4 separate regions of the Homo sapiens genome follow, and all the other regions are linked to region 4. Evidence: promoter capture Hi-C in 16 types of primary human blood cells and fetal thymus (Javierre and others, 2016). All regions are on one chromosome and are shown on one strand. Each heading gives the region's core, a stretch centred on a gene start or on the middle of the fragment in contact. The rest is flanking DNA. Distances are from core to core; before and after follow the strand shown. Region 1 holds the start of LOC105374265 (a long non-coding RNA gene). Region 2 overlaps LINC01991 (long intergenic non-protein coding RNA 1991). Region 3 has its middle 12 kb from the start of LINC01991. Region 4 holds the start of FLJ42393 (a long non-coding RNA gene).

The links. The method cuts DNA at HindIII sites, captures the fragments that hold promoters and counts their contacts. A CHiCAGO score of 5 or more calls a contact.
Region 1: a contact is called between a fragment that was not itself captured here and the fragment with the promoter of FLJ42393 in region 4, in 1 of 17 cell types (fetal thymus). The highest score is 5.1, in fetal thymus.
Region 2: a contact is called between a fragment that was not itself captured here and the fragment with the promoter of FLJ42393 in region 4, in 1 of 17 cell types (fetal thymus). The highest score is 5.0, in fetal thymus.
Region 3: a contact is called between a fragment that was not itself captured here and the fragment with the promoter of FLJ42393 in region 4, in 2 of 17 cell types (fetal thymus and activated CD4 T cells). The highest score is 7.9, in fetal thymus.

Annotation. Positions count from the first base shown.
Region 1 is chr3:187,932,045-187,936,226 of GRCh38, forward strand. LOC105374265 (a long non-coding RNA gene) reads right to left here and starts at 1,181. Exons shown (of 2, transcript XR_924814.1): 1 at 1,101-1,181; 2 at 1-788. RefSeq lists an enhancer at 515-564. The HindIII fragment of the contact is 1,015 bases long and covers 1,770-2,784 here.
Region 2 is chr3:187,965,826-187,970,209 of GRCh38, forward strand. It overlaps LINC01991 (long intergenic non-protein coding RNA 1991), which reads right to left. Exons shown (of 3, transcript NR_135538.1): 2 at 904-1,384. Among named protein-coding and RNA genes, the nearest start is that of LINC01991, 8.4 kb to the right of the region's middle. The HindIII fragment of the contact is 6,666 bases long and covers 1-4,384 here.
Region 3 is chr3:187,985,959-187,990,074 of GRCh38, forward strand. No RefSeq gene overlaps it. Among named protein-coding and RNA genes, the nearest start is that of LINC01991, 12 kb to the left of the region's middle. RefSeq lists enhancers at 583-877, 3,838-4,116. The HindIII fragment of the contact is 4,467 bases long and covers 1-4,116 here.
Region 4 is chr3:188,177,095-188,181,047 of GRCh38, forward strand. It overlaps FLJ42393 (a long non-coding RNA gene), which reads left to right and starts at 1,449. Exons shown (of 1, transcript NR_024413.1): 1 at 1,449-3,714. All of the region lies in intron 1 of LPP (LIM domain containing preferred translocation partner in lipoma), which reads left to right. RefSeq lists an enhancer at 2,213-2,825. The HindIII fragment of the contact is 11,595 bases long and covers 1-3,953 here.

The DNA.
Region 1 (4,182 bases), core at 1,027-3,526, 240 kb before region 4:
CAGACTTCCTCGGTGTGAGTCCAAACTTTACTATTTACCAACGAGGTGGCCTTGATCAAGTTACTTAAACTTTTTGGAATTCAGTTTCCTCATCTGTAGAATGGGAATAATAATAGTCCCTGCCTGACGTTATGAGTTGACTTTTATAAAGTGCTTACTTCCTTGACAGGCAGGCACACAGCTCTCCACTTACGTAGCACCTATTCATTCTTCAAGGTGCCCCTCTATTTCTCCCTCCTCCACAGATATTAATTCTATTTTCCATGTATAAAGCACTTTAGAGTTTACGAAGACCTTTCATATGTGTTTTCACATTTAATCATCACGGTGGCATGGGAGGTAGGTGTTGCTGTCCCCGGAGAGTTTTGGTGACACAGGTAAAGCAGGGGGAGGGCAGAGGGACAGGAGCCCAGAGACTGGTTTTCTATCCAGAGTATGACCAGCTTCAACGTTTTTCCTCCATTCTGAACCAGTGGGATGGTACAGCACTGTCCAGCATGTCACCAGGTAAGCCTCATTTCTGCCTTAAGGGTCCCCTATCGTTGCACCAAAACCCAAAGCCAGTGCTGTTGTTCTTGCTGTACTCGAGCATGTTATTTGCATTTCCAGACCAGGCTTAGTCTCATAGCCTTCTCAGGTGAGGAGGGACTTACTGGTTCATGTGCTCTCTGGAGGCTCTGCGGTTTCATTTCACCTGCTGCAGATTGTTCTGTGACCTTTCCTCCATCGCTGGACGCAAACCTTTCTCATTGCGAGATATTAGGTAACTGCAGAACAGAACATCCAAGCTAGAAGGAATTTTGGAGATCATTAAGTCCAATTCCAAAACCATCTTAAGGAGGAATGAACACTGAGTTCTAGGAAAATAAACTACTTGCCCAGAGACTTTGCTAATTTATGTGCTCCTCAGGGCAGGGCCATGTTCAAGCAATGAAGAAATAAGGATCAGGCACTTGCTTTCAAAAAGCACACCGTCCGGTAAACTACACCCTACTCATCTTAACATCTCAAATGTCTAACCCAGGGCCTAACACACATAGTAGATGCTCCATAGATGGTTCCCGATTAAGTAAACAAGTGAATGAATTAATGAATGTCACCTTGATAGTCACCTGCTGAGCCGGTGCCAAACCTTGAACTTAGGATTTCTATGCTGGGCTCCCACTGCTCATACTCTCTGCCTCCCCCATTCAGACTCATAGTAAGGTTCGAGAAACAGCCAATAAACATGACAAAAATGCATGCAAATATTCAATACCCATCATGTTTATTCACGATTCACAAGTGTATTCCTAGTCTTCTTCGATAAGACTCTCTCTCTATCATGATGTGACAGAAGCTAAGCAGAGAAACAGAGCTTCCAGCTGAAGAACAGCACTGACAGAGCCAGGAACTGCCTCTTGGAATGCCAGTACTGCCTCAAGCCGAAAATGTTCCCATGTCCTTGCTCTTCAAATAGGAACCAGCATATGACACATATGGGCTCATGATGGATATTTTAACATGTTTCAAATTTTGCCTGATTTTCACTCATTCCATAGAATGTCTAAGCTAGAAAATGCCTTGGAGATCATCAGGCTTAATAATTCTTTCATGGGACAGATAGAAATCCGAGAGTCAGAGGGGGAACGTGAGTGGTTCATGGTCACACAACCTGTCAGTGGCTCAGATTGACCCCAAACCCAGGATTCCTAGATTCCACCTAAGAGATTCTTTGTGTGCCCCATACTGCTGGATTCAGCATTAAGCCAGCAGACCAGTCAAGTGTAAGCTTCTTGAGAGCACAGGCTGTATCAATGGCTTATCTTTCTATCTCAGATTTCTAGCTCAGTGGCTTGCATGTCACAGAAACTCCTTCTCTACCCAGCACTGTGGAGTTCTCAGAGCTTTCATGTTCACCATGAGCCCCACTTTACATATGAGTGAGCCTCATGTTGCTCAAATGGACAAAGGGCTCACGGCTTCAGAAAAATGGTAGCAGAACTTGAACCCTGATCATTGGACAGCTAATTCATGCCCTTTTTCTGTCCTACGTAACCACCCAATAACTTTGATTACCAAGTGAGTAAATGATTACAGGATGAATGGTTGAAAGACTGACAAACATAGAAATCAATCACTCTCTCTTGAAAAACAGATTTTAAAAAACAAATAACTCGGCCGGGCGCGGTGGCTCACACCTGTAATCCCAGCACTTTGGGATGCCGAGGTGGGCGAATCATGAGGTCAGGAGATCGAGACTATCCTGACTAACATGGTGAAACCCCATCTCTACTAAAAAATACAAAAAAGTTAGCTGGGCGTGGTGTTGGGCGCCTGTAGTCCCAGCTACTGGGGAGGCTGAGGCAGGAGAATGGCATGAACCCAGGAGGCGGAGCTTGCAGTGAGCTGAGATTGCGCCACTGCACTCCAGCCTGGGGGACAGAGCGAGACTCCATCTCAAAAAAAATGAATAAATAAAAATAAAATAAATAAATAATTCTAGACCCTCATTCAGTAAAAAGTCTTTACTTGGACCCCCCGGTGGCCTGCTTTGGCTCTCTCACCTTGAATTTCCCTTCATTTGACACCAACATGTGTGTTTAGGGAAAAGGAAAAGCTAACAGCACTTAACCTCTGTGTTCCTTGAGGGGTCAATTTTTCTGATGTTAATCCTGTCCAATTTGGGTGATTTTAAAAAGTACAAAGAAAGACATTTAAGCCATGCAAATTCCTCCTCCCAGAGATTGCCAGTAGTTAACATTTTGGTGAATATCCATCATCTTTTTAAAATCTTTTTTCTAAAGCTTATAAATAAATTTTTAATGGATTTGCACTGAAAAACTGCTTAGTAATTTGTTTTTGTTGCTTAATAATAAATCACAAATATCTAATTAGGTCGCAAGTTGATCAAGTGGGAGAATGAGCATATTTTAACAATGTTTGATCAGTTGAGTAACACACAGGTGATGAGATTCCCAAACATTGCTTTCCATTGACTGTTTTAAGGACCCAGAGAAGCCATATTACCAGTCCTTGCCCGGGCTCTTCCGCTTCTAACATGACCATGGCTGCAACATGGTTAAGGTATCAGTAATTATAATAGCTCGGAATAACAGCTTACATTTTGCTAACCTCTCTTATAACACACACACACACACACACACACACACACACAGAGTAACATGTCAACCATTGTGATCAATAGGCAGAGAAGGAAACCTCACATATCTCATGTTCCTTGCACAACCCTGGAAGAGAAGCAGGTTCATGTCATTATTTTAAAGATGAAAAACTTGAGGATCAGGGAGATCATGTGACAGGCCTGCCTTTTGGGTTTTTGTTTCTTTGTTTGTTTGTTCTTTTAGTAACATCTTTAGAAAGAAAATAAAGAAAAATGAACCAAAGTTCAAAGAGGAGTTCTTATGATTGGAGATTAGAAAAAGATTTTACTCATTCATACTAGAGAGACTAACACATTCTTGGTCTTTCATTCCAGACCACTCTTTATACCTACCACACTGCTTCCTGACTTAAAACACCTTTGAAAGTTTTGGTGATTTTAGCTAATTTAATAGAACATTTTATGATATATACATATAAACATGCTGCGTTCTTTCCTGCCCCACCTCTAGCAGCAATGAGTGCTGACGGTGCATTCTGCGGCCTCCACGGATGGGCTGACTGCCTGTCACGTCTGTGAACAAGGTTTAATTTGATTAACGTGGGCTACCAGTCAGGACGACCTCCCCTGCTCAGCGACGCAAGGGCTGCTGGGTATGGCTGGCTGGAGGGCCAGAGAGCAGTTGTGATTCATTTCTGCCCCAGGCACCCACCTGGCGGGCCTGGTGCAAGTGCCGTGGGATCAGGGGAAAGTGAGAGGCCTGGCAGGCGCCTTGGCTGTGAGCTGAGCTTCGGGAGTAATAGTGAGAAGAGGGATGAGGGCAGCAGCTGCTGAGGTTGATATTTATATAATGACTCTCTGTGTTTTGAGGCAGGAAGTGAAACTGAGGTTGTGCTGAGACACTTTCCTTCCCCCATACCACTGCCCACGGCGGCTCCGGTGGGTGACCCAGGGAGAGCCACAGCAGATGCAGAGCAGGCTCCAGCCCCTTACTGGGGTGTCGGAGCTAAGGCTCTGTAGGGTCCAAGAGGCTCCCCTCCCTCTCCGTATGATTGTCCCTCCTTTCTCTCCACTTAGTT
Region 2 (4,384 bases), core at 1,313-3,812, 210 kb before region 4:
TGTACTTCTAGGGGATTCAGAGGCTCTGGGCATCATTTAAATAGTAAGTACTTCACAGACTTGAGGTGTTACATATCTGTTTTTAGGGGATGTGTCTTGGTCTCCCAACAATGAGTTGTAAGTTCCTGGAGGGTAGGGACCATGTCTCACATTTCTTTTGAACTCCCTTGGTGCTAGCACATTGTTGGGCACAGAAGAGTAGCAACACTCCTTCACATTCATGGCAGGCTTTAGCGTTTACAAAGCACCTCCACCTGCCATTCATGCAATGTTCCCAACAACTAGGTGTTGTCCGCAAGGCAGATAATGAATAGTATCTGATGGGTGAGGAAACTGAGGTTCAAAGAGCTCATTACACCTGCAAGTGCAACAGAATTTATAGTCCAGTGCTCTCCCAGTAATAACCATTAGATGAGTAGATAAAGAACAGATCTTGCAGTTCAAAAATGTGTGGGTAGCCAAAGGGAAGTGGCCACGTATTCGGCTACATGCCCTGTCATGCTGATGTAGATTGACTTCCAATACAGGCTAGAGAATTCTCTTTGTATGGATGGACTCAGTCTGAGTGACACATGGTCCATGTCTCTTTGACTCTGGCCATGTTCTGCAAATGAGATGAGATTCCAATAAGAACCAAGAACGTTTTGGGATGTGTTTCTATGGAAGCCTAGATAGAGATCAGTAATCTCAGACATCACTCTGGGCAACCTCTGGGCCTGTCCATCTTCAGGCATCTAGAAATCTGTGCCCAAGGCAGACAGAAAAGACTGGGTCCTGGAAGAAGCCTCAGGCACCAATTGGACCTCAGTGTTCTTCACTTCTTTAACTGCTAAATTCACCCAATCACATTTAAATAAATTTTATAAGACTTTGAAAATGTGTTTCTGTTCCTCTAGAAATTACCTCTAAATTTTCTAGTATAAACGTCTGCCAGCTTTGTTCAGCCAAGTTCCTTTCCCCCTCTTTTCTTTGACAATGAAAGCAGCTTTGGTGCCAACGCTCAGAACTGGCAGGTGTTTGATGACACATGTTCTGTGATAAATGTTTATTACATAAGTTCATTCAAGCTAGCTACCAGAGCTTTTGAGGCATCATTGCTACTTATCATAAAATTGTCCTTGAAAACCAGAAGCCCAATATATTCCCAAAAGCTCTATTTTTTTTTCTTTCTTCTTTTAGGTTCTCTGTGTTCTATCGACGTCTGGTGCAATGGAGAAGTCAGGAGATGGTACTTGAATCCTGACTCTGTCACAAGCTGGCTGTGTGACCCTGGGAAAGCCACTTCTGTACTCTGAGCCTAGTTGCTCATTTGTAAAATGAGGAGGTGGAAGCTGTGATTGCCAGGGTCTCTCTAATTTCTGACGTATCCCGATAAGAGGACAAACTGGTGGGGAAAAAAAAAAACCAATTTCAGTCAAGCAGAAACACATGCTTGCCTTTCCTTACCCAGAATGTGCTTTACATAACCGAATTTGCTTCCTTTTTTACTGGCTTGCACTCCAGTAAGGAGGCAGGGGAGCAGCACGGCTGGCAGCAGCTTGGAGAGGGTGCAGTGTGCAGGGATGGATGTGGGGAGGGGATGCTGAGGGAGGCTTCGCTGACGAGTGAATGAGGCACAGGCACCATGAACTACTAGAGCTTTGTCACACTTCTTATTACTGTGATTATGTTATATTAGAATGAAAAGACCTGCAGGGTATTTAAAGTGCAAAAACCTAGAGAAGAACTATTAAGAAACTTCCAGTCCCATGATTATTCTAGATAAAGCATTCAGAAACTTTAGTTATGCAAATTAGATTCATTTTTGAAGAAAATACTTACATATTAAGAATTTTACGGCTGGGCGAGGTGGCTCACACCTGTAATCCCAGCACTTTGGGAGGCCGAGGAGGGGGTGAATCACCTAAGGTTAGGAGTTCGAGACCAGCCTGGCCAAAATGGTGAAACCCCATCTCTACTAAAAATGCAAAAATTAGCCGGGCATGGTAGCACGCACCTGTAGTCCCAGCTACTGGGAAGGCTGAGGCATGAGATTCACTTGAACCCAGCAGGCGGGGGTTGCAGTGAGCCAAGATCGTGGAACTGTCCTCCAGCCTGGGTGACAGAGCAAGACTCTGCCTCAAAACAAAAAAAAAAATTTAAAAATTATCAGCTTGATATTTTTTCCTCCAAAACTTTCAACTAGCCCATGCGGAAACATGTTGTAGGTCTTTTCATGCATTAACGTTTGTACCAAAAAAAGCTCACACACTGTTATTGTCTCCATTTTACAGGTGAGAAAACTGAGATGCTAGCAGGCCCAGCACCCTGTCAGAAGATTCAAATCACAGTTGGCAACGTTGAGAGTTAACCCAGATCCCCTTGCCTCCGGGTCTGGAACTCTCTGCTACTGTGCTCTAAGGCATTCTTCCACACTGCTCCACAGAGGGCTTTTCTTGGCCTCAGGCAGAGAGATGAGTAATTATCTGTAAACCGGAATCAGGGTTTATCTCTCTGCTGTCTAAAGTACTAATGTACAATCACAGACTGTCAGAGCAGTAAAGTTCCCTAGATATCATTTAAGTGTTTTTCCTCAGCTGAGTACCTCAGTGGTACTCTCTGGTGCTTTTGAACAAGTTAGTGGCAAAATCAGCACTGAAATCCCTTAACTCCCACTTTATACTATTTATGAGACTTGGTATTAAAAAACAAAGTGAAGCCAGGCATGGTGGCTCACGCCTATAATCCCAGCACTTTGGGAGGCTGAGGCAGGTGGATTGCTTGAGGCCAGTTCAAGACCAGCCTGGCCAACATGGCAAAACTCCATCTCTACTAAAAATACAAAATTTTCTGGGTATGGTGGCACACACCTGTAGTCCCAGCTACTTGGGGGGCTGAGGCAGGAGAAACACTTGAACCGGGAGGCAGAGGTTGCGGTGAGCTGAGATCATGCCACTGCACTCCAGCCTGGGTGACAAAGCAAGACTGTCTCAAAAAAATCAATCAATCAAACAACAACAACAAAACAAACTGATTTAGAAGATCAATCACTAAATAAATAGAGTATCAGGAATTATTTTTTTCAAGTTACTTAATAATCCTGCTGGCCAGGATTGGACAGAGTTAACTTTTGCCTCAATTTCTTCAATGACTTTCATTACCAACCTCACCAATATCATGTAGAGGGACTGAGGCAGAAGGAACTGTTACTGCCTATGAGTCATCCATTCTTGACCTTCAGCATGTTTTGAAAATGTGTTGTGAAATGCTTAACAATCAATAATTCCATCACCAGGCAGTATGAGGCTGGGAGTTATGCAACAGGCGGAACAGGGCATTACTGCTACATCATTCAGGAGACTCCAAATATCTGTTGTGCTCAGAACCCTCAGCAGGACCTAAAGACACAAAGTACCCATAAAAGTTATTTTTTTTTTAAAAAAAAAAACAAAGAGAAGATGGAAGACAGAGGAGAAGTGAAAGTAGACTTCTTTCCTTGCATTGGATCAGTAAAGTGGGACTAGCAGTTAAGTGTGGATACTCTCAAGCTAGCATGTCTGTTCTTTTCTGTCAATGGCTAAGTCACACTCCAATGTTACACTGCTGCTAGGCAACTCTTCTCTGCGCCCTAGACAGTGGCTTCATCTCCAGACATTGCAAGTGTCCTAGGTGAAGGTAGCTAGTACAAAGGAAAGGAGCACAGAACAAGGAGGTGAAGACCCAGTTCAAGTCCCTGGCTGCCACTTACAGGCCTATGACACTGAGAGTGGTCACATTACCTGTCAGATCTCCAGGCCCTTCTGTCCTACCAAGGGTAGATGACATCTGCCCAATAGATTATACCCAGTTCAGAAGTGATGAGGGATGTGAAAACACGTTACAAACTACACAAATGCAAGGGACTATTAGTAGAAACCCATGAATCTGATTTTGCAAGCTCAGATAAAAGGAGTCTCCCATTTAAAGATGGGCACTGGGGTATGACTTGTGGTTAGAGGCAAAATCAACGCCTGTGCCACGCAGGTGACAGAGGAGAATTTTCAGACTCTAATTTGTGCAGTCACCATGAGCTATAAGCTGGAAAATGTTTAACTGGTTCTACAGTGGTGAGAAAGCCCTGAATTATAGGTTTTGCTGATTTCTGTGGTATAAATACTTGCACCATGGCACATTCAAGCTCTCAATGTGACATCAATAACCATGGAGTGAGGAAAAGATGCCCACCACTGTCTCTCCCTTTTATGCAAGTCAACATACTACTGGAAACTTCTCTGGAGGCTTAGGACCCTATAATGAACTTTGCAAGCCTTCTTGACATATGGGACTCAAGTTGTAACATTCAGCCACAAGTGTCTGCTCTAATAATTCAGAGATGGAAATTCTTATTTTTATGGACATCCCTGAG
Region 3 (4,116 bases), core at 836-3,335, 190 kb before region 4:
CACTCACTCTTCAATGTCAGTCTAAAAGTAGCTCTGCAATGTCTTCCTTGAATTCTTCATAGACTATTAAATATCCTTTCCTCTGTTTTCCCACAGCATCCTGTGCTCAGTGCTATTGTGTGCCAGGGCTGAGATCCTGGGTTATTTATCTCCATATCCCCCAAGAGGGCTCTGCCTGTAGGTAGTACTCAAATAATATTGAGTGAATAAATCTAAGGATCAAAGGTTTCCATCATGAGATGCTGAGCTCCTTGACAGCAGGAACCCTCTATTAACCCCTCTGGCACAGTGTGTTGCACATAGTAGGTACTAAACTGTGAGTTGAATCAAATGCCATCCTTTCCCAGAGATGATGTAAAGAGGCAAAGTAATATATTGGAAATAGTGTAAACTTTGAAATCCTTCAGGTCTGTGTGGCCTTGGGAAAATGACTGAACCTCACTGAGCCTCATGTTCCCCATCTGAGGATAACACCACTGCCTAAGACAATTGTGACAAGACATAAATGTTGATGAGTCTGGCATTGGCGTGGCACACAGGAGGTACCCAGGCTACATCAGCTCCTTTTCTCTCTTCTTTCCTGAAGTCACAGAGATTGTCCAGCAGATGGGAATGTCCATGCCCAGTGGCTCATGCTCAAACCCTTTCACCCTGACACAGTGCGGGGAGACAGGAATAGGCTCGAAGGATGACTCAGCTCCAGTGACTAAAGCAAGGAGGTGGTGGTGGTAGGAACGGGGTAGGGGCTAAAAAGGAAGTGAGTTAACACTATATCTGATGAAGGATGACTCCAAAATAAAAAGGGGTTGGCCCTAGCTGGTTCCTGGCTCTGAAACGGTGCAAGTGAACAGGGGCCTGAGTGCTTCTCCATGACTCCCTCCACCTCATCTCGTGGGGAACTCCCTGCCTACCCAGGGATGTCTTCCAGAACAAATGCTGAGCATTCTCTCTCCTCTGGAGGCTTTCAGACCAGGCACTAGAGCACACTTGAATGCCACTTTTGATGGAGTGTTTTTTTAAGAAGTATCCCGTATGACTGAGATCAGCGTGCATGGATTCTAATCCTGACAGCCACCTGGGCCTCTCTCCTCGACTCCAGACAATCTTTTCCACCCACACCACCACTTTGAAATCCCCAAATATTGCACATGCAGCAAGGTTAGACCAGTCTTCCTGCCTGCAGGGTCACCCCAGTCCATTTTCTAGACTGTGCACAGAATGATATGTTCAAAACTAATTTATAATTCTGCTATCCCTCTGCTTAACATCCTTCAAGGTTTTCCCAGTTTCTACGGAACAGTCTAGACTCCTTCATCTGGTGTATAAAGCCTTTCATGATCCAGCACCTCCTCATCTTCTGGCTTTGCTTGCTGACCCCACCCCATAAACTCATACATACAGAGACACACCCTACATTTCAGCCAGCTTTCAAGAGTCCTTTTATCAGATCTCACACTTCCCACCCCTGGGTCTCTGAACATGCCACTCCTTCTCACAGCGACACACTTCTCCACCTTGGGCAAGACTGCATATCTTTCCAGATTGGGTTCAAATGCTGTCTCTGCTGTGTGGGCCTCTCAGATGTCCACTTGGCTCACCGATTGGCATTGTGACTTGTTTATGCATGCTTCTCTCCACTAGACTGACAGATCCTTGAAGGCAGGTCCTTCCACAGAATACCTACTCAACAAATGTTTGTGGAATACATGAAATATCAAAAACAGGCACAAAGTAATAAATCAAGCAATTTTTTCTCTGGTCTCCAGTGTTTTCATCTATAAAATATGTATCTGATCTAGGTGCCTTAAAACCTAGCAGCCTCAGATTTTATACTGTATCATTCTTCAAATACACATGTCACACTCCTGGCCCTCTAAGTAGTAGGAGATATTGCTGGGTTATTTTTTCCCAAGGAGAGAGTGGAACTCTGGATCCACTGACACTGCAGAAAGGCTGATCTCAGAAGCTCAGGTTGACATCACAAAACTACTGAAAGCCAGTGCACTACATAAGGACCCAAAAAAACCCAGGACTCTGGCCATATCACCAGCACAGTCATGGGTATCATTCACCCATATGGGTGATCATTTGCAGGCATTCGTATGAGCATTGTCATAGTCCTCAGGCAGGCACACAGGGTGACACATTTGTGCAAAGAAAGCCACCCACAGAGCCTCACCTCACCAAGATCACAATCTCCGTGATCCCCGCACCTCCCAGCATCACCCACACACTCACACACCCACAGGGTGTCAGGTTGTCTGTCTGCAAATCTGGAGTTCTACACATTGGACCACAGCATCCTTCAGCAGGGAAATAAGTGCACTTGTGTTCTCATGGCTCTCTCCCTCTGATCTCTATCGTCAGCATGGTCCTCACTGAACAGCTTCTGCCAATATGCTGGCATGAGACAACCTGAGTTCACCATCAGCCTTGTGTGGGAAAATTGATTAGTTTCCATGAGCCTCAGTTTTCTCATCTATAAGATGGGACTAGTGGCCCTGCTTACTCTTTTCTTACATAGGTACTGCCAACTAATTACTTAATTAATTCAATAAGTATTGAATTAATGCATGCAAATGCACCTCATAAACACAGGCACAATGCAAATGTGTGGAAGTCACAGAAATAATAATGTTGGTGGACAGTAGTTTCTGGCTCTAATGAAATGCTCCTTTTCCAATAAAAAGGAACAATTCAAAATCGAATAGTTATTGAATACATATTACATGAAAGGGATTATCACCAACCATAAGTAACTATTTCAAAGCTGTATTAGACAGTGCTGTAGTATGTTTGTGTCTGAAGGAAAATGTTTCATATTTCATGGTTTTAATATATATACATTTTAGTACATTTTACACAAATGGAAAGAGAAATAATATTTTCATATGTACAATATGAAACTATGGACATATATGCAATAATATTTTCGTGTGTGTGTGTGTGTGTGTGTTTGTGTTTGAGAAGAAAACACTACCTATGAGTCAGGAATGAAGTGTAATGAAAAAAAAGCATGAATTTTGGAATAAAACATACACACCTAGATTCACATCCTGATTATTACTTATTAGCTTTTTGACTTGGGACAAATTGTATTATTTTTTGTTATTTTTATTTTATTTATGTTTTTATTATTTTATTATTTTATTTTTATAAGGTTTCAAAAACTGATATGTAATAGTTGTACATATTTTGAGCATACCTGTGATATTTTGATACATGCGTACAATGTGTAATGACCAAGTTAGGGTAACTGGAATAGTCATCACCGACATCATTTATCTTTTCTTTGTGTTAGGAACATTATAACTCTTCTTTCCTAGCTATTTTGAAATATACAAAAAATATTGCTAACTGTAATTATCCTACTGTACTATTGAATACTAGAACTTATTCCTTCTATCTAACAGTATTTCAGGGAACAAGTTTTAAATTTACTAAAGCCTCAATTTCCCCATACTAAAAAATGGAAATAAAAAACTTAGCTCATAAGTCTGCTGGGTAAATCACTTTGAAAAATTATAATATTGAATAGTCACTAGGACAGAGAGGGCTCAATAAGTGTCACTGTTGCCCATTTTGTGTTCTCTGTCTCACTAACCCTCTGTGTGACCTGGGACAAATCGCTCCGCCCCTTGGAGCATGTTTTCTCACCATAGAATGGGAGAGAAGAGTTTGATGATTCCATGGATTCCTTCCAGCCCCAGGAGTCACAGTATCCTATATCCAGTATCTGTTTTATGCATGCACGTGGGTTTAAGTAATCAGGGCAGCCAAGGGGTGGCCCCTTCAGCCTAGCGTTTGCTCAATTTCCAAAGCGTTTCCTTTCTCTGAACGTGCCAGTTGCTCACTTTCATATTTTCAATACAGGGCCCATTGATGACCACAAAAAGGAATGTCCAGTGCAGCTGCGGGTCCACTTGAGCCCTCCAAGCAAGCACTCTCAAGCCCGCTCTGTCTGGGAGCTCTGTGTTTTCAGAGCCTGTTGTTGCAGCGATGCCTGGAATCCTTAACACCTGCACACCAGCTTCCTGGGCATTTCCACACCCTCCCCCTCCCCACCTCCTGCATCTCCCATTTGCATCTGAAATGCAGCTGCTCTGGGCCCTATAG
Region 4 (3,953 bases), core at 199-2,698:
ATCTGAGGGAGAGACCTGGTAGAAAGAGCTAGGCAGTATGAGGCTGAGTGTCTGAAGGGGTAGCAGGCCTGGGGGTGGTCCAGTGATGGTTGAATGGGTGGGCCAGCCCAGCGAGGGGATCGCCTGCAATCCAGTAGAGATGCCCTCATTTTCATGGCAGGGTCCCCCTGTGCCAGTAGACAGACCCAGGCCTGGGAAGGAGGGCTGGTTGAAGTGAGATGGATACCAGTCTTGGAGCATGGTTGGAGAATCTGTCCAGGGTGATGGCATCTGTTTTGGATTGGGGCCTTGAGGCACATTTTCAGTTCTGCTCCCTGGACCAGCATAGGAGGGTGGCAGACAGTACAGTGATTTGAATACAGGATTGATCCTGCCACCTTGATTTCTGCCTTTATTTAGCGGCAAAGACACTAGATCAGAAAAGTACTGGATGTGATTGCTGTAGTCTTTCATGATTGATTTAGGAGCTGGGAGAGGCCTGGCTAGGAGTTGGAGGATCCCTGGGAAGATGAAGATTAGGTCTTACGTGAGCCTCAGCCCTCTCCTCTGTAAAATGGGAGTAATGATGGTAATTATGCTGATGTTACCTATTCTGACTGGAGTAAGGATTAAAGTACTTGTCTGGAGGAAGGCACTTCATGGTTAAAACATGAAAAGAGAAGTGCACAGTGTTTTTATTACAGGGAAACACCAAAGAGCTGGAAAGGAATGAGGGCTGGAGAGATGGAGCTGCCCTGAGGACTCTGGGAGGTCATCCTGGGGGCAGAACTTTGACAGTTGCTGCCCGAGGTGGGACAGGGATGCTGGGAAGATGTGACGATGTGCATAAGTGTGTCATGTTCAAGATGGTTCTAAGCCCTGGCCAATTCCATACATGCTCTTTTCCTTTCTCATCCATAGAGGTTTTGGCAAAGGCATACTTGGGAGTGTTGATATAGCTGACACTGCAGCACCCTCAGTTTACAGGTGTGAGAAGAGTGAGGCTCCCACAGTCTCACTTGGACAGGTAGTCAGGGCTCTGATGGAGCTCCTGGAGTTTCTAGGTTCTCTGTCACTTGATAGTCAGTGCTGGGAGGGACCTCAGGGAATCAGCCAATTTCACAGATGGGGAGAGTGAGGCAGGTTGGGAATTCTGGCCCCAGTGGAGGGCACCACATGCCCACAGGGAAATGTCTTTCCCAGCCCCCTCCTCATGCTTCTCCTCTTTTCTGTCTGGAAGTCCTAGTTCTCCTCCTCACGCTGAGACCCAGGTAGGGTGATTGTCCATGTTTCTTCATTTATCTGTTTTTTTTCTGTTGCCCAGGGACTACTCTAAGCACCATGCTGGTTGCTGACTGTTCGCTTTTGCAAGATCTTGGAATCTCTGTTTGTTCACATCACAACTCAAGAGGATACGTTCTCATTCTCCCAATGTTTGTCTTCTGCCCATTGCATCAAATTGCTCTTCCTTGTTTGGAATTAAACTTCTAGCAATCATTTACCTTTATGGTTCTCTTAACTTCAGGTCACACTGTTGTTTAGTCAATGTGAGAATCTTTCAGATGTTCTGCACTTTGCAAAAGGATATTCACAGCCAATGTGTGCGGCAGTGAAGGACACTTGTTGATTCCTTATTTATTGTCTGCTGTTCCAGGGACCGGGGACTAGAGGTGAATAAAGCCTTGTTTGGGCTGTCTAGGATGTTGTGATCGACACAGGAAACAGACATGAAAGCCAAATTGGCGCAGTGGGTGAAGTATTGTAATACTGGTCTCTGTTTATGATATATGGAAGAAGTTTCCTAGTAGCAGGGTGGGTGAGAGAGTCCATCATCATTGCAGATTGGTGCCTCTGTGGACATGCAGGTATATTAGGCCAGAGGTGGGGAGTGGGAGAGAGAGGGAGAGAGAGAGCACGACAAAGAGAGAGAGAGAGAGTGAGCAAGAGAGAGGGAGGGAGAGAGACAGAGAGAGAGAGAGAGAGAGAGAGAGAGTGAGCAAGAGAGAGGGAGGGAGAGAGACAGAGAGAGAGAGAGAGAGAGAGGTTTTGAGAGCATTGATATGGGGTCTACATATTCCCCCCGGCCCCCATTCCCTATTATCATAGAAGCATGCTGCCCTCCAAGGCTTTTGAATTTGCCACCGTGAAGAGCATGCATGGAATCTTCGGCTGTGGCCTTGCATTGCCCCCTGTCTTCGCAGCGGAGCTTCTTTATCTGACCCGTGCATGTGCCTCTGATGAGCAGCCCTTCATCACAGCTCTGCGGCCTCCTCCTAGGCCCCCGCCTTCAGCTCTCCAGTTCATTTCCCGCCTTGTTCCCATTGCCACCTGCGGGCTTGGAGGGCCACCTGACATTCTGTCCTTTGGGTCCCCTGTGACTCCAGAGCTCCTTCCCTTCTGGGGCGCCCACATCTGCGACACGCTTGTTTGCCCAGTGCATTTTCTACACTTAGAGTTCCTCTCGTGCTCTCATATTTCCATTTAAAGCCCTCTCGAGAGGTCTGTCTCCTGCCAGCAGCATTCCTTCTAGTTTACTAGAACTCCATTTCTCATCCTGCCAGGAATCCAGCCGTGGAGTGAGCTTCAGCAAGCCTCTCTGCAGTCTCTTGTCTGCTCCAAAACTGTGGCCTCTGGTTGTGAGAAATGGGCATCCTGAGTCAGTGAGAGCAGTAGTTAGCTTGCAGCAGCTTCCCCTCTCCCCCTGAGTGAGCCTTTCTTCCTCTTCCTCCTCTTTCATTCAGCCTCATCCTGCCTTGGGTCCATTTGACAGATAATGGCACCTTGAGGCCTTGTCTTTTGCATGGCATCTGTGCCTGACTGGTCAGAAATTACTTGTGAAGCAACATAGGGGGTTGTTGGTTGGGTCCACTTTTAGGATGAAGTCAGAAGGGATCGTGAGTGATGCTTGGCCAATAAGAATGTATTGATTTGATTTACTAATTAATTTCATTTCCAGACACCAATATATGCATAGCCTTGTTTGAAGAAAATTAAGGAGAACCATTTTGTAAATGGCAATGAGTGTAAGACACTTAACTATCTTCCTGCTCTCCCTGGCGTGGGCTTCCGCGCTCCCTGACTCTGCTTTTATTTAAGGTGTCTGGGAAGGCATTTGTCCTTCGGCTTCCCAGCTGGCTTCTTGCCTTCTCACTCACTGCCTCCCGTAGCCTGTGGGCAGAATCCCTCACCGTGCCCACCTTGCCCTGCTCTCGTCTGACCTCACCTCTGTTTCCAGGATTTGCTATGGCTGTCCCCTGCCAGTCATGCTCTGTGCTTGCTACTCTGAGTGTGTCCCTGGTCCCACTCTCTTGCAGCCTCTGTGTCTTAGCACATGCTGCCCTGATGGCCCAAGGGCCCTTCCCCTTTGTTTCTGTCTGGGGAATGTTCTGTCTCCTCTTTCTTGAACCTCCTTATATTCCCTCAAGAAGACTTAAGGCAAAAACAAACCTGAACTTACTATGTGTGGTATTTTTGTGTTATAAGTGTAGGACCTAGTCATAGTAACACATTTCAAAAATATGGAACCGTATAAAGAAAATGAGCATCACTCATAAATCACTATTTAGACACAAGCATTGTTTACGTTTCTAATATTCTTTCTTTAGTGGTGCTTTTCATGATTTTATGTGCATTTGCATTTTACTGACTAAATATTACTATATAAACATTTTCATATCTTGCCACTTCACCTAACAATACAGCACAAGCAGCTTCTCATGGCATTAAGAATTGTTTGTACATGTAATTTTGAATGGCTGTATGCTGTTTCATCTTAAGAATATACCATAATTCTAATTTTTCATCATTATAAATAGCACTGTGACGAACATCCTTCTTAACAAAATTCTTTGTCTGCACCTATGATTATTTTCTAAGGTAGATTATTAGAATTTGAAATGCCTTGCACAAAGGACAGTAACTTTTTCACCCTTAGTTTCAGAGAGAACATGTTGTCTCTGGAGAAACACAGAAAC